Linked DNA regions of Homo sapiens: region 1 is linked to region 2. Evidence: promoter capture Hi-C in 16 types of primary human blood cells and fetal thymus (Javierre and others, 2016). All regions are on one chromosome and are shown on one strand. Each heading gives the region's core, a stretch centred on a gene start or on the middle of the fragment in contact. The rest is flanking DNA. Distances are from core to core; before and after follow the strand shown.

What was found. Contacts are between HindIII fragments. The CHiCAGO score rates a contact against its expected background, and 5 or more counts as called.
Region 1: a fragment that was not itself captured here is called in contact with the fragment with the promoter of TMPRSS11D in region 2 in 3 of 17 cell types (monocytes, megakaryocytes and endothelial precursors); the score reaches 5.6 in monocytes.

The regions. Positions count from the first base shown.
Region 1 is chr4:68,164,033-68,166,732 of GRCh38, reverse strand. No RefSeq gene overlaps it. Among named protein-coding and RNA genes, the nearest start is that of TMPRSS11F, 36 kb to the right of the region's middle. The HindIII fragment of the contact is 1,217 bases long and covers 811-2,027 here.
Region 2 is chr4:67,882,641-67,885,340 of GRCh38, reverse strand. TMPRSS11D (transmembrane serine protease 11D) reads left to right here and starts at 1,339. Exons shown (of 10, transcript NM_004262.3): 1 at 1,339-1,415. The coding sequence starts at 1,408. The HindIII fragment of the contact is 7,558 bases long and covers 1-1,490 here.

The DNA of each region.
Region 1 (2,700 bases), core at 170-2,669, 280 kb before region 2:
GAGATATCCAACCATTTTACAGTATTCACCAAAATAAGGAAATTTTGACAAAGCTAGTAAATAGTACCTGCCTGCACTATGATAAATAAGAGGCACTGTGAGGTAATGAAAACTACTTGGAAGTAATAAAAACTGGGTTTCAATCTCAATCCTGTTACTCATGTTGTGATCCTGTGACCTGAGAAGTTTATTCAAGCTCCCTGATCTCAGTTTGCTCTCCAGTTTAATGGGAATAAAGTGCGTACTTCACAGCATTTGTAAAAATTAAGGAAATGTATTAAAAAGTGTCCAGTGCAATAATTGGAAATCAGCAAATTTAAATCAGAAACTACTCTTAAATCCTACTTCTTCACTCATTTTTCTCAGATATTTAATTTCACATGCAAATATGTATGCAGATCTCTTCCATCAGCTATGTAACACCAGTTAGGTATAAAGTGATTTTGTATGAAGTAGTTGAAAATTGAACTGAGGTGTTAAATACATTCTATGAAGAATAATTCTTGAGAATCAGTAACTGGGTACTAACTGTAGCTCACTAATAATACGTAGCATTTATTAAGCAGTTTCCTATGTGGTGGTGAGGTAAGTATAACATTGATGATCTTATTTATCTATTTATTATTATATTAAAGGGACAGGTTCTTTTTATGTTGCCCAGGCAAGACTTCAACTCCTGGGCTCAAGAATCGTATCATCTCAGCCTCCCAAGAAGCTGGGACTATAGGCATACATCTCTGCAACTGACTGGGGGCTAAATAATAATTTTCAGGTAGTAGTGAAAAATGAAAATGCAATGCTCCTTAAGCTTTTAATTTTAAAAAGCTATTATATTATAAAACATAATAGGGATGAAAATGGTATGTGGGTAACAATATAAACTAATAAATTACAAAAATACAATTTTTGGTGTTCTAATTTTAGGTCATAAAAGAAATAATACTTTATAATGTGTAATCTTGATTTCTCATAAATTTTTTTCCTGCTTTTCTGGAAACTCATTTGTTAGTTTATCAAAATTTATACTTTTTAAACTTCAGTTGATATAATTGAAATTAATGCCAGTTGCTCTTGGTAAGATCAGTTTGTTTTTTACTTTTTATAAAGATGAACTATTCATTTTAAAACAGTTTTAGATTTACAAAAAAGTTAAGATGGTAGGGAAAGTTTCTATATATTTCACAGTTTCCCCTGTTGCTGCTATCTAAAGTGTGGTACATTTGTTACAATTAATGAAGTGATATTGGTACATTATTATTATGAAAGCCCATACTTAATTCCTATTTCCTTAGTTTTTATCCAATGGCCCCTTTCTGTGCCAGGATCCCATTTTGGATACTACATTACATTTAGCCATCATGTCTCCTTAGGATCCTTTTAGCTGTAATAGTTTCTCAGATTTTCTTTGCTTTTGATGATCTTAACGGTTTTGAGAAGTACTTGTCAAGTATTTTATAGAACGCTCCTCAATTAGGATTTCTCTGATGTTAGTCCCATAATTAGATTTGGAGTTACGGGTTTTTGGGAGAAGATCACAGAGGTAAAGTGCCATTTTAATCATATTGTGTCGGTGGTTTATACTGTCAGTATAACTTATCTCTGTTGATATTACTTTGATCATCTAGCTTAGGTAGTGTTTTTCAGGATTCTCCACCGTAAAGTTACATTTCCCCACTTTCCATTTGTACTGTTTGGAAGGAAATCACTGTTTAGAGATGACACGTAAGGAGTGGGGAGTTATGACCCACCTCATTGAGGGTGGAATATCTACATACATTATTTGGAATTTTTCTGCATGGGATATTTGTCTCTTCTCTCTCATTTATTTATTTAATCATATACTTATACCACTGTGGACTCTTGGATACTTATTTTATACTTTAGATTAAAATCCAATACTAGTTTACTAATTTTATTGTTCAAATTGTTCCAGATTTGACCATGGTAACAATCTGTGTCTCTATTAAGCTGAGTTTGTACTGATGAGTATGATGATTTCAAGTCTAATACATTGATTACAGAAAGCTTGATTACTTTTTCAAAATGTATTTTATTTTGTTGTTGTTGTGTGTGTTCCAATTCCATTATTTTATTTTACTGTTTAACTTTTAGTTTCAGGGATACACGTGCAAGTTTCTTTCCTTTTTTTTTTTTTTTTTTTGAGATGAAGTCTCGCTCTGTCACCCAGGCTGGAGTGCAATGGCATGATCTCGGCTCACTGCAACCTCTGCCTTCCAGATTTAAGCTATTCCCCCTGCCTCAGCCTCCTGAGTAGCTGGGACTACAGGTGCACACCACCATGCCCGGCTAATTTTTGTGTTTTTAGTAGAGACAGGGTTTCACCATGTTGGCCAGGATGGTCTTGATCTCCTGACCTTGTGATCCATCCGCCTTGGCCTTCCAAAGTGCTGGGATTACAGGTATGAGCCACTGCACTGGGCAGCAAGTTTCTTATATAAGTAAAGTGCATGTCGTGGGGGTTTGGTGTACAGATTATTTCCTAACCTAGATGATAAGCATACTACCTGATAGGTAGTTTTTTTGATCCTCCCCTTCCTCCCACCCTGCACCCTCAAGTAGGCCCCAGTGTCTGTTGTTCCTTTCTTTGTGTCCATGTGTACTCAATATTTAGCTCCCATTTACAAGTGAGAACATATGGTATTTGGTTTTCTGTACCTGCGTTAGTTTGCTTAGGATAAT
Region 2 (2,700 bases), core at 90-2,589:
GTAATAGCGATATATTTGTGAAATAATATTAAGTATAAAAAGCATAATACAAAATTATATACCATGATATAACTATATTTAAAGGTACTTGAAGTTAACATGTAAAATTTAAAAATGGTTTGTTTAGGTAACTTTATTTTTTAAACTTTTAAATCTTATTATAGTTATTTATTTATTGCTAAAAAATCAATGGCAGAATGTCAGGCATGAGATACTGTATGTAAAAAATATATTTCCCAAATATATTTGGGAAAAAACATATAAGTAACCACTTATTCCTGTCTCTGTTGTTTGATTTGCACATTATATAGAAAAAGTCAAGTAACTGAACACATCTGAAGTTGCAGTATTGGAGTAAATTTAACCATTAGTTGTCAGTGCTTTACAAGATGAAGTCATAGAATTTTATAATTGAGAGTCCTCTAAGACCTCCTGATTCAGCTTCCACTTTTCTTAGTAGATACATGTGACTTATGGAGAAATAAGTAAATTTTTTCCCTTAAGCTACACAATTAGTTGGTGAAAAAGCTAAGACTAGAATTCATATTGTACTACTAATAATATTGTAATAATTCTATTACAAGTTCCAATTCTTTAGCATTCATTAGTTCTCACAAAGTAACCCCAGTATAACCTTCCAAATTTATATCCTGCTTCTTTGCAATGTTAGACAGGAATGCCCTTTTTCCCCTCCCTGCTAGTCTTGCCTGTTTTCTTGAGCTCTCCATCCTTACCCTAACACCCTACACACTCATACTGTCTTCTTCTGTCTGCTCCTCTTCTAGTAGTAGTGTGTTAGAATAGCTTTTTCAAATGATCATATTTGGAAAAAAACAAAGTGGATTTTAGTTCCAACTATTCTGTTTGCTTGTCTTACTTTGTGCATCTACTCAATTATGCTCTGTTTCATATATTATGAGAAAAACTGCATTTAATCATACAGATGAGGGAATTCAGAGGTAGTGCCCATTAATGTACGGAAAGTATGTTCTGATGGATCTTGGCTGGCTGTGTTGAGGAATGAGGTGTATAACAATATGATAACATGAGCAAAATAAGTGTCAAATCCTCTTGAACTAAAAGTGACTCTACAGTTGTGAAGTAGTCACAGGCTTTCACAAAATACCTGTCAATTGTAATTGTGTTTAATCTCAATTTACCAGAATAAATAAATTTCTTACTAATTTGTGAAATTCCCTGTCTATTTCCAATTATCTTCCACAAGTCATACTATTGGTTTGTTGATTCCCTCAAACTTGTTTAACAAGTTAGATTTTAATTAACATGAGATTTCCTCCTTTGTCCTCAACTATAGATCACACGTAATACATGAGAGTCATTCATTTGAGTGGGAATCTCAAAGCAGTTGAGTAGGCAGAAAAAAGAACCTCTTCATTAAGGATTAAAATGTATAGGTAAGTCCTGTTTTTGTCTTTGTAGCTTTAAAAGTTTTACTATATCTTACAGTATGGGAAAAATATAAAGAAGCTTAGCAAATTTTGACTGTGTCTAGCAATCTTCTAGTTACTTCTCTGAAAACTTCATCGAAACTCTTAGATATTGTTTAGATAATATGCTTGATATTATTTTCATAAGGTACATAGTTGCTTAACTGAATTTTTTATAAAACAACCACAAAAATACTTAGCTTAGCGTTATGACAACATATCTTTAAATAAGGAAGTGGTTTTGTTTCTCATGTGCAACATTTCGAAAAGTGGTGTGTGGATTTTAAAATTGCAATCAGTAAACAATTCTTGTGTTGTTTGGAACTTTTCGAGGATTCTGTGTTTTGACTTCCATTACAGTTTTATTGCTAGCTATTAAATAAATATGCCATAAATCCTAAAGTACACTTTTAGAAAGTAAAGACGGTATTTTTCTACTTTTTATATAGTTGTAGAATTATTTTCAAGAAAGTTCTTGCTAACATTTAAGAGAAAATAATCTCTCTCTGGTTTTCTTTTTAGTTAATGAATAAGTATTTTCCTATACTTTCACATAAAGAAAGAAAAAAGTTGTGAGATAATCAAGTCACACGTTAACATCTCAAAACAATGAAATAATTATGTAACTTGGTATGTTTATGTGTGCACTTAAGTGTATATATTATGCATATTATTTTTCTATGACTACAGGAAAACATGATACTGATAAGTCATGCTGAAAGGATCAACAAAAGCATGAACAATGTGTTAGCTATAATAAGTGCAGCTGAATTTATTTTAAATCTCCTGAACATTGGAAAATTCAATCAAAAGTCAAACCATTTTAAGTAATAAAAATATATATACAGTTATATGCACTTGAATATATATATATGAGTGAAAAGTGGATAGCTGTCTAAGCTTCCAATGATAGAAGAAATAAAATCATTTCATATTCATGTAATAGATACAAGAAATGTATTAAAGTAGCTTAAAAACCTATGAAGTAATTTACATACTGAGTTTGTTCTTATTTTATGTGAAAAAAACAAATCACAAAATTGTATTTACTCATCAACTACTACTTTGTAAAGCTATACATGGGAGAAAGTCTAATAAAGAACATAGAACATTAATCAGGTTTGTTATACTAAAGCAGTGAGTTTATGAATTATATTTTTTATTGTTCTTAAACCATCTATAAGTGTAATATTATTTGGGTAATATAGTGCATTTTAAAATGTATTTTGCTGAAATATTTTAATTTTAAAGA